Linked DNA regions of Homo sapiens: all the other regions are linked to region 1. The links are contacts of gene promoters, found by promoter capture Hi-C in blood cells and fetal thymus (Javierre and others, 2016). All regions are on one chromosome and are shown on one strand. The core of a region is centred on a gene start or on the middle of the fragment in contact, and the rest is flanking DNA. Distances in the headings are between cores, read along the strand shown. Region 1 holds the start of CFAP36 (cilia and flagella associated protein 36). Region 2 holds the start of ERLEC1 (endoplasmic reticulum lectin 1). Region 3 overlaps ASB3 (ankyrin repeat and SOCS box containing 3).

Region 1 (4,187 bases), core at 1-2,500:
AAAAAAAAAAAAAAAGGCACATAATGATCATCTTCATGCATTCAGGTAAGATACTGTGTGCACATTCACAAAATAAAAATAGACTAAAGGATGGTTTATGGAATACTATGCAGTTGCAAAGAAAGCACAAATTTATATTTTTAAAAGATAAAGATATAAGAAAAAAATTCATAACTGTACATATAATCCTATTTATGTAAAAAATATATATATATATATGGTTGTCTGAAGATATTTTGGGACTCCAAACACCTTCACAATGACCACTGAAGACCCCATTCCACAATGGACTCCACCTAAATGCTGAGTTGGAGTTATAATAAGATTTGGTTACCAAGGCATTTATTTAAGTGAGTATTAACTTTGCTCTTGCCCTTGAAAAGCTCCTAATTCTAGTTATCTTTATCCAAGCGTAAGAGATTAAAGACCCGCCTGAAGATACAGATGCAAACTGACCGTAAGACAATCAGCGAGTCTCACACAGCTCGGCTTTGTATTTTCAGACAACCCTTTAATTACAAACGCCTCTGGGCCAATGGTCTGAAAATGGTTGGGACTGAGGTGCTGGGGATACAATGATGAACTGCAGCCGCTGAAGCCCTGTCAGGTGGAGACCCGGTTACCTCAGACCCTCACTGAGCCTTTTCTTTTTTCTTTTCTTTCTTCCTGTTTTTCTTTTGAGACGCAGTCTCCCAGGCTGCAGTGCAGTGGCTCACTGCAACCTCGGCTTCCCGGGTTCAAGCGATTCTCCTGCCTCAGCCTCCCGAGTACCTGGGATTACAGGCGGCGCCACCACGCCAGGCTAATTTTTGTATTTTTGGTAGAGACGAGGTTTCACCATGTTGGCCAAGCTGGTCTCGACCTCCTGACCTCAGGTGATCCGCAAGCCTCGGCCTCCCAAAGTGCTGGAATTACAGGCGTGAGCCACCGCGCCCGTCTACTGCGCGTTTTCTAAACCTTGGCTCCTACGCATTTATCAGAAGAGAGAGCGCAATCTGTCTATGACTTCCAGCCAATAGCTACACTTCTTTTCTCAGCCCTCGTCCACTGTTCTTTTTTAACCAATCAGAAACGTTTTTCAAACGTTTGCCCTCCCCGCTAAGTGCGCAGGCTCCTGGAAAGTTGTCTTCACTTCCGGGCCGCGGTCTAGGGCGGCTACGTGTGTTGCCATAGCGACCATTTTGCATTAACTGGTTGGTAGCTTCTATCCTGGGGGCTGAGCGACTGCGGGCCAGCTCTTCCCCTACTCCCTCTCGGCTCCTTGTGGCCCAAAGGCCTAACCGGGGTCCGGCGGTCTGGCCTAGGGATCTTCCCCGTTGCCCCTTTGGGGCGGGATGGCTGCGGAAGAAGAAGACGAGGTGGAGTGGGTAGTGGAGAGCATCGCGGGGTTCCTGCGAGGCCCAGACTGGTCCATCCCCATCTTGGACTTTGTGGAACAGAAATGTGAAGGTAAAAACCAGAGCCCGAACCGACAATCCTTTTCTCCTCTCTCACACCAGCGGCGGGCAGGGGGTTGGTAACCACAAGCCATCTCTCGTCTCCCCGACCCCCTGTCTCCACCCCTGTCGCAAGGTCTCGTTCCCCTCACCACCTTCTCCACCCGCGTCATCAGGTTTAGAGCTGGTTGTGTGGGAGGAATTCCTTTCACCCTGCCAATGTGTTCCTTCGCAGACCTGAAAACGGGGACCGAGACTCCCCTTCTCTGGGGCCGAAGCGCACGTCCGAAGAACATTAGACTTGAATCGTAAATTCGGTCTCTCACCCTGTCCCGAACGTTTCTGCCCTCGGCAGGTGGACTGTTTGGCTGGGCTTCTTCAACAGCTTTGCCAGACTTGAGAGGAGAAGCGTCGGTTTACCTGAGTTCCTTATGATCCCTAGCATTTCGCCCGGTGTAGTCAGCTTAGGAAATGAGAAATGATTTCACTCCAAACCAACAGTTAACTGCAAAGGAGGGCATGTGATAACTCCAGGAAGCCCAGAGCCGGTGATTTTGGTGGCCTGTGTTCCCCTTGGTGAGCTCTCTACTCTTCGCTATACCAAAAATTGGCGAGGTGGGGCAGGACCATTCTTGGAACAAATGAGGCGTATAGATATGGCATAATATTCCCCGTGAAGGACAGGCATCTCCGGGTTCTGAGCAGTTCTTCAGGCTTGGAGTTCTGCATTCAGTTCGTGGAGACTATTTGCAGCCCATTCGCAGAAAAGGAACCAGAAACCACGTCATATAAATGAGTGCCCAAGCGTTATTGTGGTTGTTTAATCGGGCAAGACTTTGAGGGTAGTAGTATTCATCAATTATTTGAACATCTGCTTTGTGTTGTAAGGTTGAGTAGAATAGAGCTAGGGTCAGTTGGTACAAGCTACAGGGAAACAAATTTCAGTGAAGGAAGTGTTTCATGATAGAATGTATCCAAGATGAGTTAGCCAGCCTCAGAAGGTAATGAGCTTCCCGGCTCCAGCAGTGTTTGAATGGATCTGATAGCGACTTAATAGGGTTAGAGGGATTCAGCTATTCAGCTATCAAATGGTCGGTTATCCTGGATGACCTTTTAAGACTTCTTTAAATTCCAAGATATCATGAATCTGGTAAAGATGAAATTCAGTTTGACCACTGAATCTTTTCATTACATTTTCATTGCTATAATCAATATTCAAATCGTAGTTATTAAAGTGTTATTTTTACAGGTAATTTTTTAACAATGTTCAAAAACAAAATAACTTGTATTTGTACTCCTTTTTTTTTTTTTTTTTTGGGAGACAGAGTGTCGCTCTGTTGCCCAGGCTGGAGTGCAGTGGCGTGATCTTGGCTCACTGCATTGTTTTATACATATGATCATTCAGTAAACACTTGTTTTGATTTTATTTAACTTCATTATTTATCTGTGGTAACAAAAATTGCCTGGTCACTTTCAGTAACATTTACATCAGCAAAATTCCAGTACAATAAAATAATATGGAACCTATTGTAAAAGGATTTAACCATTAACAATAATATTACATTAAAAGTTATGAAGAAATTATTGCCTCATATTGATTGAAATGTGTTTTTGTCTTAAATATGAGGTAGTATTCATTTTAAATATTTTCTCAAGTAGGCAAAAAAGCTTGTTTACAATTAATAGTATATATGTGTGTGTGTGTGTGTGTGTGTGTGTATATTTTTTTTTCTTTTTTTTTTTTGAGATGGAGTCTCACTCTGCCGCCCAGGCTGGAGTGCAGTGGTGCAATCTTGGCTCACTGCAACCTCCGCCTCCTGGGTTCAAGCAATTCTCTTGCCTCAGCCTCCCGAGTAGCTGGGTCTACAGGCGCGCACAACCACGCCTGGCTGATTTTTGTATTTTTAGTAGAGATGGGATTTCACCACATCAGCCAGGCTGGTCTCGAACTCCTGATCGTAGGTGATCCACCCACCTTGGCCTCCGAAAGTGCTGGGATTACAGGCATGAGCCACAGTGCTCGGCCAATAGTATATATTTTTAGATATATTCATTTATATATTTTTAAAAGATAAACCCTAAGAATTCAAAGCTGAAGAGCTAGGTTGACAGTTCTATTTGGAAGGAGTGGATTTTTAAATTTGCATTAATAAAATGATTTGGTTTTTACACTATGTAATATTTTCTTTTAAATTTAGTTTTTGATGATGAAGAAGAAAGCAAATTGACCTATACAGAGATTCATCAGGAATACAAAGAACTAGTGAGTATTTTTTTTCACTGATTTTTAAAAGTAATTAGGCTAATACTACTTATAGCTTTTCTAAATGAAGAAAAATATTTTTACATTAAAAATCCTTAATTTTACAAAAATCCAATCTACCTTAACAATAGTGCCAGTTATATCTGTCTCCACAGGTGCTCTGAATATCTCATTTGGATGACTTATCTCCTCTACTCTAAGGAATGGTTTTACAACTCTTTATGGGTTCTTGCATGTATTCTTTATATCTTATTCTTATTTTGTTGACGCATCCAGGGACATATTAATTATTCACTTCGTCATGGTTGTCATGTGATTTTTTTATTTTTTATTTTTGAGACAGGGTCTTGCTCTGTCACCCAGGCTGGAGTGCAGTGGCACTATCACAGCCTATTGCAGCCTCAACCTCCCCAGGCTCAAGCGATCCTCCCATCTCAGCCACCTGAGTAGCTGGGACTACAGGTGTGCACCACCATGCCCTGCTAATT
Region 2 (4,111 bases), core at 421-2,920, 1.7 Mb before region 1:
GTCAAATACATCTCTTTTCCTTCATGACTTAAGACTAGTGCTTAGCACAGAATAAATGCTAAAAAAAAAAAAAATTGACTATTACTACTATAATAGTTTGCAATTATTTGTTTGTACAATCTCCCTGCCTAGACTGTGTGACCAAAGACAGAAACCCATTTATTTGGCATTTTACCAAGCCCAGGGGGGCCAGGCACAGTGGCTCAGGCCTGTAATCCCAGCACTTTGGAAGGCCGAGGAGGGCGGATCACCCGAGGTCAGGAGTTCGAGACCAGCCTGGCCAACGTGGTGAAACCCTGCCTCTACTAAAAATACAAAAATTAGGGTGTAGCGGCGCGCGCCTGTAATCCCAACTACTCGGAAGGCTGAGAAAAAGGAGAATCCCTTGAACTCCAGAGGCGGAGGTTGCAGTGAGCCAAGATTATGCCTCTGCACTCCAGCCTGGGTGACAGAGCGAGACTTTGTCTCAAAACAAACAACAACAACAAAAATCCCAGGAGTCTGGATCACATTAAGCATTAATAAGAAGTGCTGAATATAATTAGCGAATAACAATTCTGAAGAAAGTTATCTTCTTTGATACTATGGATTCCTGATGTTAAAAAAAAATTTTTAAGATAGAATATGGGACTGTCCTTCCTGCTTTTTGATTTGGTTCAAATCTGAGGAAGTGGGGGCGACCAGTCTTTAACAGATCTAGCAAGACTGTCGAGCTTTAGGGAATGGTAATTTCTCTAAAGCCAACACTCTATGTCCATTATATTGGAGATCAAAACAGACAATGGCATTTTTTCTAAAGAGGGGGAGGGAAAAACAAAACTTTTTGTCTAATTTGGGGATGCAGTCAGACGTGACTTAGTTCATAAACACACACATTCATCTGGCGCTAAACCTCACATAAGGAACCTTACCAGCTTCCTTGATAAAACAACACCCCAACACTTCAATCTAGAGATGGAGGGTAAAAATGTAGGGTTGTGATGTCTAGCTGCCCATTCCACGAGAGTCGCCCACCACGCCAAATTCGGAGGCTTGCGGTATTCACCTACGGGGAGATGGCGGGCTACCTCACCCCAGGTTTCCCCTAACACAGAGTTGCAGTCGCTGAACAAACTGCCCTGCGTTAGTCAGAAGCTGTTAAGTAACGAGATGGCCACGGTCCACAGCAGAAGAGATGGAGATAAGCCTCAAGCGGGAAAAATGAAGTGTACAAATGCCAAATGCGGAGAAAAAGAAGAAAAGCTGCAAGAAGGCAGGTCAGTCAGGAACACCGCCATTTCTCACATCTCATCGCTACTTCGAATTTTCTCATCTAAGGACCCGCACCCGCACGGTTCACACTGTCTTCTTCCCGCTATCACTCCGTGTGGGTCAAACCTCTGCCTGCCCACTGGAGAGCAGCGGGAATGGCTTCAGGAAGCGGCTGCCGCCTCCGAGACTCACCGACCTGCCGTGCTGCCACTTCTACACCGAAATGGCTGGTCCGAGGCCGCGTCTCCAGAGCTGCGTCCCAGAAGCCCCCGCTTTCGATCCCCACCGCGATGCTGCAGCCGTCCGAAAACGAGAGACGCGCAGGCGACGTCCCGGCCCCCGTAGGCGGACGGCTCCGCGACCCCCGGATGTTGATATGTCGTCTGCCCCGGAAACGGTGACAGGAGGCTCAAGGGGGCGGAGGCGGCGTTGCCGGGCTCTCCGGAAGGAGACGTGGCGGCGGTTGGGCCGGTGATACCCGGGCGCTTTATAGTCCCGCCGCCTCCTCCTCCACCTCCTCCTCCTCCTCCTCTCCTCCTGGAGCAGAGGAGGTTGTGGCGGTGGCTGGAGAAAGCGGCGGCGGAGGATGGAGGAAGGAGGCGGCGGCGTACGGAGTCTGGTCCCGGGCGGGCCGGTGTTACTGGTCCTCTGCGGCCTCCTGGAGGCGTCCGGCGGCGGCCGAGCCCTTCCTCAACTCAGCGATGACATCCCTTTCCGAGTCAACTGGCCCGGCACCGAGTTCTCTCTGGTCAGTGCCCTCACTAACCCCGCAGCCACCCCTCCTCCTGACACTAAGGGTTCGGCCTCTTCCCTCGGTTTTCTTTGCTTTTTCTCCCCAAGACCTTCTCTGCAGACTCTTACCTTCCCCAAGCCAAAGCTGCTTTTATGCAGCGTTCATTCATTCGTTCGTTCTCACGTTATGTGGATGCGTCCCCCTTGCTGAGCATTAGGGATCCAGCAATCACCTGCTCTCCACCTTTTCAATTCTGTCGCACTAGACCTTGCTTCCCAACATTCCCACCCTGCAGAAGCAGCTTTCGTAGAATAACGTCAGGTGCACTTACTCATCTTCCTTTCGGAAAATTAACTGTGGCTCTTACTTCACCAGCAGACTTCTTTCCTTCAGTATTACATGTCACCCTGCCCACACCACAGTACTTCAGACTCGAGTTCCCTCTCTCGTATTCGTTCTCCCTCAGTTGTATACACACACGGACATACGCAAACGCACAGCTCCAAGGGAACTTTTTCCTTTCCTAGTTGTTTCTGAGAGGGCTATTTGGCCTGTGAGATGTTAACGACCCTTTATGCAGAATATCCTTTACAGTTTTCATGTATTACGACTGTTATTTGAGTCCCCAGAACATGAGCTTCTATGTTGAGTTTTCCTGTAGTGAAGAACATTTGTAACCTCGCGGAAATGAAAATTCCCTCTTGGGGGAGTGGACCGCTGAAAAGTCTTCCTGTCCACGTGTACCTACTGCAGGCTAATAAATATTGTACTCTTATGACACTTACCATGTAGTAATTAACTCATTTACTTCAAATTGAAGTCCCGGAAAAAGCAAAATTTTTTTAAACTTTTTATTCCAATTACCTTCAAGCATTCAACTTGCAATACTTTATTATATTCTTTCATTACCATTTCATTGAAACAGTAAGTGACACTATGATGTCAAAACAAGATGTGTCAAGTTAATGGATGTTATTACCACATAGCTTTCTATTTGCAAGTGTTAGGGGTTTTTTGGTTTGGTTTGGTTTGGTTTGGGTTTTTCTGTTTTTGTTTGTTTTTTGAGACAGGGTCTCAGTCTGTTGCCCATTCTGAAGTGCAGTGGTACGGTCACCACTGGCTGCAGCCTCGACCTCCTGGGCTCAAGAGATCTCCTCAGCTTCCCAGTAGCTGGGACTATAGGGAAATCCCACCACTCCTGGCTAATTTTTTTTTTTTTTTCTAGAGGCAGGGTCTCACTATGTTGCCTAGGCTGGTCTCGAACTCCTGGGCTCAAGCAATCCTCGTGCCTGAGCCTCCCAGAATACTGGGATTACATGTGTGAACCAAATGTTCTGAATTTATCTAGGTAAATATTTTTCTGGGACGTCAAATTTCTCTTTGTATTAATGCCACAAAATATTGATACATTGAAATACCTATGTAAAATTTTGTTATGAATCAGATATAACTTTAGCAGGCTTGGAAGAGAATACTTTAATACCTGTTGTTGTATCCAAAGAGCACACTTGGAGTGAATATGGCAGATGTTTGAAGAATTATGTCATTAAAATTTTTTACTCTTGGCACCTGTGTTTTTTTTAATTTAAAAAAACTTGCTGATATGCAGCCCTGAAAACTTACTATAAGCGAGCGACTAAAACTAGCATTTTTAGAGGTCACTACCAAATTGTCATTCCATTTTCTTTCAGTCTTAGCATTTGCTACACCAACTTTTCACGTATCTAACAATTTTATTTCAAAAAAAAAATGCTTTGGCCATGTGCGGCGGCTCACATCTGTAATCCCAGCACTTTGGGAGGCAGAGGCAGGCGGATTATGAGGTCAGGAATTCAAGACAAGCCTGACCAACGTGGTGAAACCCCATCTCTACTAAAAACACAAAAATTAGCTGGGCGTGGTGGTGCACACCAGTGCTCCCAGCTACTTGGGAGGCCGAGGCAGGAGAATCGCTTAAACCCGGGAGGTGGAGGTTGCACTGAGCCAAGATTGCACCACTGCACTCCAGCCTGGGTGACAGAGTGAGACTCTGTCTCAAAAAAAAAAAAAAAAAAAAAAATTCTTTTTTTAGAAGCTGGAGTGCAGTAGGTATTTATAGGCATGATTATGCTCACTACAGCCTCAAAC
Region 3 (4,522 bases), core at 730-3,229, 1.8 Mb before region 1:
AAATAGTCAAATCATATATCGCCTGAGAGCACAGAGGGAGGGACAATGATCAGGATATAAACTCAGGCATTCGAGCAGGGAGCAGCAACCCCCTTTGGGTCCCCTCCCGTTGTATGGGGGCTCTGTTTTCACTCTATTAATCCTGCAAATGAAAAAAAAAAGGCAGAAGGAGAATTCATTCTCTCTTGAACTAGGACATGCATCTTCTCCTGCCCTTGGATACTGGAGATCCTGATCCTCAGGCCTTCAAACTCCAGGACTCATACCAGTGGCCTCCCACACCCCAGTTCTCAGTCCTTTGGCCTCAGACTGAGAGTTACACTATCACTTCCCCTGGTTCTCAGGCCTTCAGACTTAGGGTGAGTTACACCACCAGCTTTCCTGGTTCTCCATCTTACAGAGAGCATATGATGGGACTTCTCAGCTCCCATAATTACATTAGCCAATTCCCATAGTAAATCCCCTCTTGTCTATCTATATATATTCTATTGGTTCTATTTCTCCAGGAAACTCTAACTTATCAAACAGTAATTGCACTTCTAAAACTCCATCCTACAGAAATGGTTAACCATGTAGACAAAGATATATACATAAGGATGTTCACTGAATCACTAGTTATAACAGCAAAACTTTAGGAAACAAACAAAATATCTATCAATAGAAGAATGGTTACATAAATTACATTACATCTCTACCATGAAATACTACACAAAAGTGTTTTCACTCAAGAGAGCAGAAGAGTGACTTGGTCTGTTGCATTTTAAAATGATCCCTCTAATATATTGAGGGTGGTCTGTCATAGGATGCAGAAGGAGCAATGGCAGATAGAGAAGATCTGTTAAGATGCTATTATAGCAACGCAGACAAGGTATTAATGGTAGTGAGAAGTGATCTAACTGTGTGTGTGTGTGTGTGTGTGTATACATACACACAAATATAGACATACACATACACAAATTTGCTGACTGACTAGATGAGAAATATGAGAAAAAGAAAGGAATTAATGATGGCCCAGAGTTTCTGGCCTGAGCTGGAACAATGGAATATTTCTATCTAACAGATGAAAAAACTAAACCACTTAGAGGTTAAAAAACCTGTCCAAAGTCACACCAATAAAATGGTAGAGTCACTAGAATTCAGGTCCATCTGACCGTAACTCTTAATCGCTGTGCTACAATGATTTATTTGTCTAAGGAACTTCTGCATCTGTTACTGTGCCCAGTATTAGTGCGTATTTTCTTATTTAACATGAACTAATAAAAAATACTATGAGCTAGATCATTTATTAGCCAAATAAAAGTATTTTTTAGCTATATGCTTAATAATTATAAGATTTTTAAGGGACTTTTAGTCAGCAAATGACTTATTATTGAATGGCATTAATTGTCAGTGAAGATCATTACTGCCCTCCAGGATGACAAGCTTCATAAAATCTCAACACCCATTACACCCAACCTCCAATACAGGAGAGAAGACAAGCAAATTTGTTATCTGTGCTAATATGTTAAACAGAAAACTAAAATGAGATACATAAGAAATACAAAAATATGTATGCATATTAAACTTCTATGTAATCTACACCACACTTGAATGCTCTTCTCCAACTTGAGTCAGAAGACCATGTATGGTACTCAGAATGGATTCCAAATCTAAATTGAAGAGACAGTGAAGCAAAACTCTTCTAATCATTTTAGATATTTCCATTTTATTTGTGTAGGCCTACATACCTTCTTATTTGGGTGCACTAATTATCTTTTAGGAATCTCTGACAGTGTATTAATATTAGATAAACCTCAGGGAGGTAGGAAAATTATATAATAAAAGACAGCAGGTGTGATGCATCACACCTGTAATCCCAGCACTTTGGGAAGCCAAGGCAGGAGGATCACTTGAGCCAAGGGTTTGAGACCAGCCTCGGCAACAAAGTGAGACAGTTAGCCAGGCATTGGTGGTGTGCACCTGTAGTCCCAGCTACTTGGGAGACTGAGGCAGGAGAACCGCTTGAATCTGGGAGGTGGAGGTGGTGGTGAGCTGAGGTCGCACCACTGCACTCCCACCTGGGCAACAGAGCAAGACTCTGTCTCAGAAAAAAAGGAAATACAGTCGGGCTTCTGTATCCACGGGTTTTGCACCTGCAGATTCAACCAACTGGGATGGAAGATAATAGCATTTGTAGGATGTGGAACCCACAGATACAGACGGCTGACCTTTTGTATGTGTGTATAGGACGTTTTCCTATCTTCAGGGCAGACTGCCGAACTTGAGGAGCATCCATGAATTTTGGTGTCCGTGGACATTTTGGGACCAATTCCCTGTGGATATGGCAGGACAACTGTAGAGATGAATTTAACAGCCAGTTCAAATGCCTTTAGTCAAAAGCATGCCCAAGTTTACTCAGCAGATGAAAAAAATCTGTAACATAAACTACACTATTCCGATATGAAGAAGAGATGTAACAGTATATTGGAAATGAGCTTTTTGCCTAGAAAAGGATATTCAAACTCATGTCTTTGTTACTAAAAATAGTTTGGGAACTCAAGCTTTATAGTTAACTTCAAACAGATTCTGAAAACATATCTTAAGCGTTTGAAATTAGAGGAATAACATCTATTTTTCCACTATCTTCAAACACTCAACTATAATAGACACTAGACACTTGAACATGTGATTTTAAAAACAATCATGACAAATTTCCTGCATTATGATTTAGGAAGTTTAGCCTTACCATCTCTTACCTGTTAAGACAAAAAAAAGAAAAAAACAAAACAACAACAACAAAAAAAACACCTACCACTACCAAAAACAATGTAAAGATTATTTCCTTTCCCGTCCAGCAGGTAACAAATTAGTAGTTCTGATGGGCTATGGACCCAGAAGTTTATATTTTAAGGACCTATACCTGGTGATGACAAGTATGCAGGAAAGAGGGTCTGAATTTCCACGATCAATGAAATGAAATTGGTTCTGAGTGTTACAATGCAGAGTATTATAGTCAACCTCATTTTAACTGAATGCTATAAATTCATTCAATTAAATGTTAGAAGCTTGGTATGAGAGGAAAAAAAAGGGCTTTAGAGTCAGAGAAATGGGTTCAAATCAAATACCCTAGTTTATTATGTAACCTTTTACAAGTCAACTTCTCTGAGCCTTGGTCTTTTCACCAATAAAATGAGGATAATACTGCCTCTAACACCATTTTTATAAATATTAGATAAAGAAGATAAATTGAGCATGTGGCACAATGACTATCACAAAGCAATGCTCAGTCACCATTTGTTTTCTTCCTACCCCCTCTATACTAAATGTCAGAATCTCGCCTTTAGTCAATGACCTTCACTCAGTAGTGTGCTGGTTAACATTTAATAACTAGCTGTCCAGAGGGAAGAAAGCCCAGTTTATAGCACTGGTTTGTAGCACTGGCTTGTTTCTGTGGTGTAAATACTCCTACCATGGCCGATCCCAAGCATGAAGTCACTGAATGCAGAGATGTAAAGAGATGTGCAGTAGCACACCATTTTTGTCTATCCCATCTGTTTTATTATCTCTACTTTGTTTTATTTTCTTCATAACACTTTTACCTTTTTAAATTATCTTGTTTAATTATTTAGATATTTGTCATCTGTTTCCTCTGACAAGAAAAAGCATCAGGAAGGCAGGCATCTTGTTTCATGCTAAGTAGTTGTAAAAATTCCCAAAAGTATTAAAAAGTGTTTAAAAAGAAAAAGACTAATTCAATCAAAACACATCCTCAATTTCAGTACAATTGCTCTTTCTGTTTGGTAAAGGAAGAAAGAATAAACATGACCAGTAACTACCAAATGCTTAAATTCAAACAGCAGACTACTTCTCCCATATCACCTAGCTCAGTCAATAAAAAGAGGCCAGACAGAGGCACTTCCGTATAAGATGTCCAACTAGAGTATCATACTAATTGAATCCAAGGCAGGCAATCTTACTATCCTTAATAAATAAATTCAGGCAGTTATTTTATGACTATAGAAAGGGAAACAAATACTACTGTTAATAAGTTATGTATTATACTTTTTTATGTTTTATTAATCCAGCTTGTAGGCAAAGCCTCCATACCTTGAATTTACTTTACCTGCATTAATTAACATTTGCAAACATTCTACAGAGTTGTGATAAGCTGCTTCATGAATTGGCATCCATCCCCTGTTATCAGCAACATCGACACTTCGGCCCTTTTTGAGCAGTTTCCTTAAGACTTTAACATTGCCTTCCCTGGCAGCAAGTCCAACTGTAGAGCACGTGTCCGCGTAAGCCTCTGTAAAATCCATTTGTTTGACCAGTCTACAAAACAAGGTAGAAGGATAATACTATAGTCAATAAAACAACACTTCACTCCTAGAGGTCAGCAAATCACGGTGGGCCTGTCTAGTATCTCTCACATGACTGACGAAGAAGGGCCCACAATACAGAAAGTGACTGCCATGCCACAGTCTCTGCTGGTGCCTAAAGCAGGAAGTTTCTCTGTTTGGCAGATTGGAATTCCTTGGAAGGT

The links. Contacts are between HindIII fragments. The CHiCAGO score rates a contact against its expected background, and 5 or more counts as called.
Region 2: a contact is called between the fragment with the promoter of ERLEC1 here and the fragment with the promoter of CFAP36 in region 1, in 2 of 17 cell types (total B cells and naive CD8 T cells). The highest score is 9.4, in total B cells.
Region 3: a contact is called between a fragment that was not itself captured here and the fragment with the promoter of CFAP36 in region 1, in 3 of 17 cell types (naive B cells, activated CD4 T cells and naive CD4 T cells). The highest score is 7.1, in naive B cells.

What each region holds. Positions count from the first base shown.
Region 1 is chr2:55,518,468-55,522,654 of GRCh38, forward strand. CFAP36 (cilia and flagella associated protein 36) reads left to right here and starts at 1,251. Exons shown (of 10, transcript NM_080667.7): 1 at 1,251-1,449; 2 at 3,635-3,699. The coding sequence starts at 1,335. RefSeq lists enhancers at 552-601, 1,782-2,031. The HindIII fragment of the contact is 7,670 bases long and covers 1-3,102 here.
Region 2 is chr2:53,785,374-53,789,484 of GRCh38, forward strand. ERLEC1 (endoplasmic reticulum lectin 1) reads left to right here and starts at 1,671. Exons shown (of 14, transcript NM_015701.5): 1 at 1,671-1,999. The coding sequence starts at 1,838. ASB3 (ankyrin repeat and SOCS box containing 3) reads right to left here and starts at 1,580. Exons shown (of 10, transcript NM_016115.5): 1 at 1,448-1,580. All of the region lies in intron 1 of GPR75-ASB3 (GPR75-ASB3 readthrough), which reads right to left. RefSeq lists enhancers at 1,070-1,728, 1,244-1,663. The HindIII fragment of the contact is 9,655 bases long and covers 1-4,111 here.
Region 3 is chr2:53,761,275-53,765,796 of GRCh38, forward strand. It overlaps ASB3 (ankyrin repeat and SOCS box containing 3), which reads right to left. Exons shown (of 10, transcript NM_016115.5): 2 at 4,103-4,311. The coding sequence starts at 4,298. It overlaps GPR75-ASB3 (GPR75-ASB3 readthrough), which reads right to left. Exons shown (of 10, transcript NM_001164165.2): 2 at 4,103-4,311. Among named protein-coding and RNA genes, the nearest start is that of CHAC2, 4.3 kb to the right of the region's middle. The HindIII fragment of the contact is 1,118 bases long and covers 1,421-2,538 here.